3 separate regions of the Homo sapiens genome follow, and all the other regions are linked to region 1. The links are contacts of gene promoters, found by promoter capture Hi-C in blood cells and fetal thymus (Javierre and others, 2016). All regions are on one chromosome and are shown on one strand. The core of a region is centred on a gene start or on the middle of the fragment in contact, and the rest is flanking DNA. Distances in the headings are between cores, read along the strand shown. Region 1 has its middle 2.7 kb from the start of TSPAN9. Region 2 holds the start of RAD51AP1 (RAD51 associated protein 1). Region 3 holds the start of CCND2 (cyclin D2).

Region 1 (3,477 bases), core at 573-3,072:
CTCAGCCTCCCGAGTAGCTGGGATTACAGGCCCGGCTAATTTTTGTATTTTTAGTGGAGACGGGGTTTCACCATGTTGGCCAGGCTGGTCTCAAACTCCTAACCTCAGGGGATTCACCCACCTCAGCCTCCCGAAGTGCTGGGATTATAGGCATAAGCCACTGCGCCTGGCCGAGAGTGGAACTCTTCATACATTCTACCTCTCACTCTACCCTCAGGTCATCTCCATGTCAGAGGGGTGGTGGAAGTCTCTTCAGGTGGAAGATTCCTCCGAAGTAACTTTGTGCATTACACTCTGGATGGAGCAGTAGTTAACTGTGCAGGCCCTCCAGCCAGACAACCTGGGGTTATATCCTAGCTTAGTCAATTGCTGGTGAAATGACCTTGGAGAAATTACTTAACCTGTCTCAGCCTCAGTTTCCTCATCTGTAAAAATGTCGGGATGGTGATGCTACTACCTACCTCATGGTGTTGTTGTGAGGATCAGTGGGTTAGAACATGTAAAGTACTTAGAACTGTGCCTGGCACATAAACAGTACATGTTAGCTGTTAGCTGCTTTGCAAGTCACTTGAAACCTATGGCCGAATGTGAAGTGTTGGCGGAACCCCGCTCCGGCAGCGTGCACTTTCGCCACTAGGTGTCGCAATTCAGCAGGCACAGTCCTGAAGCTTGACTTGGGGTGGTTGGCTGGGACTTTAATTTTAGCCTATTGTCATTTTTGATTTGATTTGGTGATTTCAAGGGGATAAACTGACATGCTATCCTTTGAAGTCCCTGGGGATCCAGAAATTCCAGCAGAGTTGCTGACATCCAGGCCTGGAAGGAGCTGTTTGGAGTCCTGCCTTTGTTCACAGTTAAAATGGCATATAATTTATCATCCACGCCAGGATATTTCGAGAGTGAAAGGGGACTTAGGAACTATGCCAGGACAAGAGGAGTAAGTAGGATGTGCCCCCGAAACCTGGATACAGTCACCCTACCTATATCTAACCTCAGCATTTTTCAGAATCTCCTCCAGAAGGGAAATGCAATGACATTTCCTCAGAAGCCTGGTATGATAAGCAGTGACTTCATGCGTTTGTAAGTCCCTTCCCCAAGAGGGTGGTGCGTCATTGTCAGGTTTACTTGCGTTTAGTCCTCAGTGGACACTATCAGTGTGTCTGCTTCACAGACCACTAGTCACCTTTGTGTCCTTTATGCTGAATAATCCCATCTCCTCTACAGCTTTTCTTCAGAGCTTCCTTCCAACTGTCAGCCCCTCAGAGGCACTGAGGCATTCACCTCTGAATGTGGTGAAGGAGAGTGAGCAGTGAAGCCATTTTCTGGGCTATTGCTGAGGGATTTCTTCTAAGATTTCATCTATCTCTAAGACTTCAGAATTCCATTATTTCAGATTTGCTCTAATTAATTAATTAATTTGAGACAGAGTCTCACTCTGTCACCCAGGCTGGAGAGCAGTGGTATAATCATGGTTCACTGCAGCCTTGACCTCCTGGGCTCAAGCAATCCTCTCACCTCAGCCTCCCGTACAGGCATGTGCCACCACGCCCATGCACACCTGGCTAATTTTTGTATTTTTAGTAGAGATGGGGTTTTGCCATGTTGGCCAGGCTGGTCTCGAACTCCTGGGCTTGAGTGATCCACCTGCCTTGGCCTCCCAAAGTGCTGGGATGACAGGTGTGAGCCACTGTGCTCCGCCTATCTTTTTTTAAAGGGCAGGAGGACTTTGGGAGGCCAAGGTGGGAGGATTGCTTGAGGCCAGGAGTTCAAAACTAGCTTGAGCAACATAGTGAGGCCTCTGTCTCTACAAAACAAAACGAAAACGAAAACAAAAACAAAAACAAAACAAACAAAAACCCCAATTAGCTGGGTATGGTGGCATGCACGTGTGGTCCCAGCTACTTAGGAGTCTGAGGTTGGAGGATCCTTGAGTCCAGGAGTTGGAGGCTGCAGTGAGCCATGATGGCACCACTGCCCTCCAGCCTGGGTGGCAGAACAAGTCCCTGTCTCAAAAACAACAAAACAAAACAAAAACCAAAAAGGGCAGGAGGAAGCTAGCATTTGTAGAGCAGTCACCACACATCACATGTTGTGCTTTTACTCCATCATCTTGGTCAGCCCATCAACCCTGTGGAATTGGTTTTTTTTTTTTTTTTTTTTTGAGACAGTCTCGCTCTGTCGACCAGGCTGGAGTGCAGTGGCACGATCTTGGCTCACTGCAACCTCCGTCTCCCAGGCTCAAGCAATTCTCCTGCCTCAGCCCTCCGAGTAGCTGGGATTACAGGCATGTGCCACCACACCCGGCTAATTTTTGTATTTTTAGTGGAGACGGGGTTTCACCATGTTGGCCAGGCTGGTCTCAAACTCCTGATCTCAGGTAATCCACCCGCCTCGGCCTCCCTAAGTACTGGGATTACAGGTGTGAGCCACCATGCCCATCCCCATAATTGGTATTCTTATGCCCCATTCCACAGGTGAGAAAACAGGCCTGAAGAGGTCCCAGCCGATAAAAGCAGAGCCAGGATTCAGACAGGTGTGTCTGGCTCCCAAGCCCTGCGGCTACTCCCTCACCAGGCTGCGTCCAATGGTCTGCCAGTGAGTTGGCTTGCTGGCAGACAATCCTAGTATATCTCTTTCCCTGTCTGAGACCCAGTTTCCTTTTCTGGGTACATGTACCCAACTCTGCCGCAGTGACTGGAGAGATTGGGGCTGGTGGGGGTTCCTTGGGAAGACTTTGTTATAGGGGCATTGAACAGGGCTTTGGATGAAGCAAAATGTAGAAGGAGAATATTTTCCTTGTGGGGAAAGGGAGATCAGAAGGAAATGGGTTATGGGTTTAGTCTAATAGACAAAAACAAGGTTGCATGTGTGTGACGGAAAGGGGCCCAGAAGATGAGTGGAAACTTCCAGTCTAATTAGCAGAAAGCAAAAGTGACCCTAGTGATTATAGCCAGGTTTTAAAAACTTGTCCCCAGTCAAGCTTAGTGCAATGGTAGGGCACGTGGGAAGCACAGCATACAGTTTCTTTAAAATTTAAAAAAATTTCACTTTTAAAGACAGGGTCTCCCTCTACTGCCCAGGCTGGAGTACAGTGGCATGATCCTAGTTTACTGCAGCCTCCAACGCCTGAGCCTCAGCCTCCGGAGCAGCTGGGACTACAGGGGTGTGCCACCACACCCGGTTAATTAAAACATTTTTTTTTTGAGATGGGGTTTCCCTATGTTGCCCAGGCTGTTCTTGAATTCCTGAGTTCCTGAGCTCAAGCAATCCTTCCACCTGGGCCCCCCAAAGTCCTGGGATTACACGCGTGAGCCACCACACCTGGCCTAGAAGACATTTTTGATGACAGTAATGATGAGAAGAGATGGCGTTTTAGTGCTCTTTGGAAACAAGTTTAGGCCTTCTAGCTTTAAGAATCCGGGCCTATAATCCCAGCACTTTGGGAGGCAGAGGCAGGAGGATGGCTTGAGCCCGGGA
Region 2 (3,477 bases), core at 657-3,156, 1.5 Mb after region 1:
TAAAAACTTTCTATGACATTCCATTGCTCTCAGGATAAAATGCAAACTCTTTATCCCAGTTTACAACACCCCTGCTTATATTTCCACTCTTCTCTCAGAAACTGCACCTCTCCTTCCTAATACACAAATTCACAAATTTTATTTTCCAGCCATTCTGAACTTCTGTCAACACCAAACTTCTCCTTCCATGCCGAATCTTTTTGAATGCCTTTTCCTTTGCCTAGAGCACTCTTACTGATCTTAATTTCATTGGATAACAATTGCTAATTCTTCAGGTCTCAGTTAAGCCTCTAGGAAGACTTATCCAACTCCCTAAAACTGGATTGGGTCCCGACAGGCTCTCATATTAGCCTAGACTTATTTGAATCATGGCACTTATCACGCTCTATTTCTTACTCTTGGCTAGAAAACAGTCTTCTTGAAGTGGAAGGAATACTGTCTTGTATTCCATGTATTAGGCAGGATGTTGCGAATGGCAAGAACTAATAAATAATTGTTGGATTGTATGGCGTTTTTATTTTATGGTGCTCACTGGAAAAATAAAGAACAAAAAATTATTCATACGGTTATTTAAAAAGATATCACCTGAAATATAAAAAAAACTCAAAGGACTTTTGTACATGTCGTGGGGCGGGGCTAAGTTGAATTATCCAGACTATATTTTCAAATCTGTATGTAGGCTATACACAAAAATCTTCGTCTATTTCACCATAATGCAAAGAGATAGGGTATTTGTTTTACTCAGAAAGAATTAAAATTAAACGTAAAGCAATACAAATTTTTATAATGTTAGAAAACTACCAAAACTACATAAAGGTATATTCTATGATGTAGAAATTTCATTCCTAAGTATATATCCAAATACACACACACGCATATGTTCGCTAAAGTACACCCAGAAGAATGCTCATATAAGTTTTATTTATAATACCCCAAACTGGAAACAACCAAAATGCGTATTAGTAGGAGAATAGTAAACTTGTTTATTTTATGAGATAAATACTACACAGCAATAAAAAAGAATCAACCACTGATAAATGCAAAAATATGAATGAATCAGGAATGTTGAAAAAAAAAAGAGAAGGCAGACACAAAAGCTCTGGTTCAACATTTAGACTTGTGTTTCAAGAAACTGATAACTTTAGTTCTTTCTCCTCTCGCTCTTTTTTTAGACTAATGGTCTATCCTGAAGCCTGGGTTCAGTTTTAGCAACCGTGAAATCCAGGAAGGTTTCCCATAAGAAAATGGGATGGAAGGTCTGGACCGAACACACACAGCCAACAGAGCGGAGGCTCTGAGGCTCACATTAATCAGGGAAAAGGAAGACAGACGGTCGAGCTGAGAAACTTCAGCCGGGTGAGGGGACTAATCCCTCTGTAACGGTTGTCAGTCTGAAAGGGCATCCTCACTCGGTTCTGGGCTCACCTCGTCTAGTTCCGAAGTCCTGGGCAGTCCGCTCACTCGAGCTGTCAGCGCGTCCTGCACTGGGAAACCAGCTGACTTGCCGACATACTTTTTCCACACCGCGGATCCGCGAACGTAGATTCGCCACATCCTTTTCTATTTCCTGGCATCTTGTAGAAAATTTCTCAGTCCAAGTGCCCCTATGTCCCAACCTGTTTCAATTTAACAATTTGAAAGGTGCAATAAGGTGTATTTCTATTGTTATTCTGTATTTCAGAGACAGGGCAAATCCGCCGTTGTGACGAAAGTGCAGGGACAAAGCACAAACTCGGCTCTGGTGGACCGGATACGGAAAAGCGGTGCCTTGGGGAGGGCGGGAGCAAATTCGCTTTCCCCACAGCGCGTGCGCCGCCGCAAGCATGGCTGGTGATGATTGGACGACTGGTAACAGGGGGCGGAGGGCTCCGAAGTCTGGTTTTGGGCGGGAATTGAAACCGCCGCTGAAGCCAACAAGAATTTGAGAACTGTAAATACCAAGCCTTGAAAGGGACCATGGTGCGGCCTGTGAGGTGGGTAGTTCCTGACATTCGTCGGGGGTGGGAGGAAAACTAAGGGAAAAGACATGAGACTAAGGGGAAAGGATCGAGTAAGACCGGAGGGCAGCGATGGTGGGGTTAGGATGGACGGTTATCAAGAACCCAGTCTCCAGTGAGAGCCACCCGTTGCTCAGAAGTATCCTAGCATCGTAGCTTTTTCCTTCTCTTTGCCTCCCTTCACAACCGTCGCCGTTTCTTTTACCAAGACCTTGTTAGCGTTTGAACAGCGCTTTACATTTCACCGAGCGCCCAATTATGTGTTATTTTATTTGTTTATCACTGTAGTTATTTGATATAGAAAGAGTAAGCATTCCTGTTGTATTGATTTAACATTTCTACGTATAGAGGGTAAGTTATCTGAGTCATACAGCCCAGTAAGTGGCAGGGCAATACTCAAACCTAAGTCATCTCACTCAAGATCCTCTGTGCTTTCCATCGTGGTATTAGAAACGATTCTTCTATTTACACAGTTGAGTGCCATGGAAGCCTATAGTTAGCCATTCATTTAATAAAGTTATTGAATATATTCACTTCTTTAGTGTACGAGGTGCTGGAGGTTACATTCCAGTGGGAGGTGAGGTTAGGGGGCCGAAAATAAGCCTCGAAATATGAGAGTGCGAAAGAGGAAAGCACTACTTTAAATATAGTAGTTAATATGTGACTCTGAGGCGATAATGCATGCACTGAGTCATGAATCAGGGTAGAGGGAATAGGAGCCAAGGCCCCATACTTGACCATATTTTAGGGACAGTCTAATGCTATAGGATTAACAAGCAGTGGGGAGAATCGTAGGGGGATTAGGCCAGAGAAATAGGCAGGTGCCAGAACAGATAGGGTCTTGTAAGTCTTAGAAAGGAGTTTAGGTTTTATTTTAAGTCAATGGGAAGTCAGTGGAGGGTTTTAAGTAGGGGAGAGGAATCTAAGTTTGCTTTTATAAAGGTCACTGGCTGTTGGTGGAGAATAAATGATGGATAGGGTGACCAGAACGGGAGCAGGAAAATCAGGTATTATATCATTGGAGAGCGGTTTGGGATAGGGTATTATTAGTGGGCATGGAATGGAACAGATGAATTTGGGATGTATTTCGGAGGCACTGTGGACAGAACTTGCTGATGAAGTAGATGTACAGGTAAGGGAAAGAAAGAATCAGAGATGACTCCACAATAGTTTTGGTCTGAGCTACAGGATGGATGATCTTTGTATTAAGATAGGGAAGACTAGGAAAAGGAAGGTTAGGAGGTGTGAGGGATCAAGATTTCTGTTTCGAACATGCTGAATTTGAAATGGGTTTTAAGCATCCAGGCAGTGGAGTCATAATCCCTTTGTAAGGAACAGCAGTTGTTAAAGTATGGTCTACAGACCTCTGTGGGTCCCTGGAAACTTCTCTAGAGGTCTATGAGGTCAAAACTCCTTTCATAACAATACTAAGATATGATTTGCCTTTTTCGCTGCTTTGTCATTTGCACTGCAGTGACCC
Region 3 (3,477 bases), core at 658-3,157, 1.2 Mb after region 1:
CCCGCCCCTTCCCTCCCCTTTCTTTACATATAGGAGATGGGATACTCATTCCCGCTGCTATTGATAAGGTCGGAGGCGGCCGGGCCTCTCCCCAGCTTTCGCCCGCCCCAGCGCCCGCTCTCCCTCCGCCCTCCCTTGGCTTCCTTTTGATGTAGTGGGGAACGCGTCCTACTAAAAAAAAAAAAAAAAAAAAAAAAAAAAAGTAATCTGCCCGGTAACAATCAGCGCGCAGTAGCAGGAGCCCCAGAGCTATTGGCTATGCAAATAGAGGGAGGGGAGACGGCGCCCCAAACTCTTCCTCACCCTTTTAAAGCGATATCCCCTCCTTTCCCCCCCACCACCCCTTCCGCCCCACCCTCGTTTAAAGAGGCTGGCTCCGGGGCCTGAGTTAATCGCTTGCACCTCTAGTTTATTCGCTCCCCTCCTCCGCCTTGCAGGGAACCTAGTGTACGGCTCACCCAGCCCGCGCCCCACCCCGCCTTGCTGGCTCTCCGCGCCCCTGCCCGGGCCCCCTCTCTCGGTGAGGGAGGCACTCAGTCGGCCTCGGTGTGCCCAGAGAGCTCGAGCCACGCCATGCCCGCTGCACGTGCCAGCTTGGCCAGCACATCAGGGCGCTGGTCTCTCCCCTTCCTCCTGGAGTGAAATACACCAAAGGGCGCGGTGGGGGTGGGGGGTGACGGGAGGAAGGAGGTGAAGAAACGCCACCAGATCGTATCTCCTGTAAAGACAGCCTTGACTCAAGCATGCGTTAGAGCACGTGTCAGGGCCGACCGTGCTGGCGGCGACTTCACCGCAGTCGGCTCCCAGGGAGAAAGCCTGGCGAGTGAGGCGCGAAACCGGAGGGGTCGGCGAGGATGCGGGCGAAGGACCGAGCGTGGAGGCCTCATGCCTCCGGGGAAAGGAAGGGGTGGTGGTGTTTGCGCAGGGGGAGCGAGGGGGAGCCGGACCTAATCCCTCACTCGCCCCCTCCCCCTCCCGGGCCATTTCCTAGAAAGCTGCATCGGTGTGGCCACGCTCAGCGCAGACACCTCGGGCGGCTTGTCAGCAGATGCAGGGGCGAGGAAGCGGGTTTTTCCTGCGTGGCCGCTGGCCGCGGGGGAACCGCTGGGAGCCCTGCCCCCGGCCTGCGGCGGCCCTAGACGCTGCACCGCGTCGCCCCACGGCGCCCGAAGAGCCCCCAGAAACACGATGGTTTCTGCTCGAGGATCACATTCTATCCCTCCAGAGAAGCACCCCCCTTCCTTCCTAATACCCACCTCTCCCTCCCTCTTCTTCCTCTGCACACACTCTGCAGGGGGGGGCAGAAGGGACGTTGTTCTGGTCCCTTTAATCGGGGCTTTCGAAACAGCTTCGAAGTTATCAGGAACACAGACTTCAGGGACATGACCTTTATCTCTGGGTATGCGAGGTTGCTATTTTCTAAAATCACCCCCTCCCTTATTTTTCACTTAAGGGACCTATTTCTAAATTGTCTGAGGTCACCCCATCTTCAGATAATCTACCCTACATTCCTGGATCTTAAATACAAGGGCAGGAGGATTAGGATCCGTTTTGAAGAAGCCAAAGTTGGAGGGTCGTATTTTGGCGTGCTACACCTACAGAATGAGTGAAATTAGAGGGCAGAAATAGGAGTCGGTAGTTTTTTGTGGGTTGCCCTGTCCGGGGCCCCTGGCATGCAGGGCTGGATGGAGGGAGAGGGGTGGGGGGTGGCGGGGGACCGCGTTTGAAGTTGGGTCGGGCCAGCTGCTGTTCTCCTTAATAACGAGAGGGGAAAAGGAGGGAGGGAGGGAGAGATTGAAAGGAGGAGGGGAGGACCGGGAGGGGAGGAAAGGGGAGGAGGAACCAGAGCGGGGAGCGCGGGGAGAGGGAGGAGAGCTAACTGCCCAGCCAGCTTGCGTCACCGCTTCAGAGCGGAGAAGAGCGAGCAGGGGAGAGCGAGACCAGTTTTAAGGGGAGGACCGGTGCGAGTGAGGCAGCCCCGAGGCTCTGCTCGCCCACCACCCAATCCTCGCCTCCCTTCTGCTCCACCTTCTCTCTCTGCCCTCACCTCTCCCCCGAAAACCCCCTATTTAGCCAAAGGAAGGAGGTCAGGGGAACGCTCTCCCCTCCCCTTCCAAAAAACAAAAACAGAAAAACCTTTTTCCAGGCCGGGGAAAGCAGGAGGGAGAGGGGCCGCCGGGCTGGCCATGGAGCTGCTGTGCCACGAGGTGGACCCGGTCCGCAGGGCCGTGCGGGACCGCAACCTGCTCCGAGACGACCGCGTCCTGCAGAACCTGCTCACCATCGAGGAGCGCTACCTTCCGCAGTGCTCCTACTTCAAGTGCGTGCAGAAGGACATCCAACCCTACATGCGCAGAATGGTGGCCACCTGGATGCTGGAGGTAGGTCGGGGGGTGGCGCTCGCCAGGAGCCAGGACCCCTCCGGATGCTCGGGTCCCCGGCCGGAGCCCTAAACCTGGGAGAGGGCAATCCCCGCGCCGGCCTCCCGGCTCCTGTGCGGGAGTTTACCGCGCGCCTTCTGGCGAGACGCGTGGCTTTATTTCTGTTCCTCTCCAGATAAACTGGGGAGGCAGAGGGGGGAGGAAAATCTGGGAGAAGCGAGGCTGTCCTGGGCGGGGGTAGGGGAGCATCCCGCGCGCGTGTTCCTGCATGTGGCTGCCTCTTCTTCCCACCCCCCTCGCGACCTGTCTTTTGCGAAGCCGCCGCGGCTGCTTGCGCTGCGGCCAGGAAGAGAGTCGGGGCCTGAAATCGGGACCCCGAGTAGAAAGGCAACCCCCCCCAAAAGGCCAGAGCAAATTCGTCTTGGCCTCAGGTCCCCGCCTGTGGTCGCGACTCCGCGCTGGCACTTCACCGGGGAGGTGGAGGGAGGAGGGAGAAGGAGAGAAACGGGGAATTCGGGAGCCCCGGAAGTCCCATTGAAGAAACGCGTGTTTCAGGGGAACCCAAAAGAACCGCTTCTTGCCCCTCACTCCAAGTCTTTGCCCAGCGAGCCGTGTGCCCACGTATGCACAGCTCTGGACCTGCCGTGGTTTCGCCATGTTGCTTTGCAAACTCCCTTTGGAAAGGCTGGGAAACGTCGCCCGCTTACCCTCGCACCCCATTATCCCGGCCACCCCACTTCTAATCGTGCCCTCTCCCCCACCCCCCACCTCACGAAGATTACTTACAGTTTGGTTTTCCAGCTTCCTCGGTGCGGAGATTTGGGTGGGGTAGGAAGGGGGGGAGGGGGTGTGTGTAGGGGGGATACCGGGTCACCCCTGAAGGAGAGGTGGGAGCCCCCCGTGCCTCTTTCCAGGGCTCTCTGCTCCCGTCTTTCCCCTCGCTCGTCACCGCGTTCCCTAGTTTCTGTCCTTGTGGGCCGCAGCCGGACACTCCCGCCGCGGCGCTCACCCCTTCAAGTTTCCTCCCGGGATCCAAAGCCCCAGGGGTCGGAATACAGACCTTTCTGGCACCCGAAACCTCTGTTTCGGGAAGCCT

What was found. The method cuts DNA at HindIII sites, captures the fragments that hold promoters and counts their contacts. A CHiCAGO score of 5 or more calls a contact.
Region 2: the fragment with the promoter of RAD51AP1 here is called in contact with a fragment that was not itself captured in region 1 in 1 of 17 cell types (fetal thymus); the score reaches 5.1 in fetal thymus.
Region 3: a contact is called between the fragment with the promoter of CCND2 here and a fragment that was not itself captured in region 1, in 1 of 17 cell types (fetal thymus). The highest score is 8.4, in fetal thymus.

Annotation. Positions count from the first base shown.
Region 1 is chr12:3,072,955-3,076,431 of GRCh38, forward strand. No RefSeq gene overlaps it. Among named protein-coding and RNA genes, the nearest start is that of TSPAN9, 2.7 kb to the right of the region's middle. RefSeq lists an enhancer at 489-783 and a silencer at 565-714. The HindIII fragment of the contact is 2,312 bases long and covers 667-2,978 here.
Region 2 is chr12:4,536,984-4,540,460 of GRCh38, forward strand. It overlaps RAD51AP1 (RAD51 associated protein 1), which reads left to right and starts at 1,907. Exons shown (of 9, transcript NM_006479.5): 1 at 1,907-1,973. The coding sequence starts at 1,957. FERRY3 (FERRY endosomal RAB5 effector complex subunit 3) reads right to left here and starts at 1,486. Exons shown (of 14, transcript NM_020374.4): 1 at 1,426-1,486. RefSeq lists enhancers at 1,121-1,730, 1,731-2,339 and a silencer at 1,466-1,515. The HindIII fragment of the contact is 5,379 bases long and covers 1-3,477 here.
Region 3 is chr12:4,271,855-4,275,331 of GRCh38, forward strand. CCND2 (cyclin D2) reads left to right here and starts at 1,908. Exons shown (of 5, transcript NM_001759.4): 1 at 1,908-2,381. The coding sequence starts at 2,187. The region is part of intron 1 of CCND2-AS1 (CCND2 antisense RNA 1); the gene reads right to left. RefSeq lists silencers at 23-214, 199-318, 1,099-1,218, 1,749-1,838. The HindIII fragment of the contact is 5,777 bases long and covers 1-3,477 here.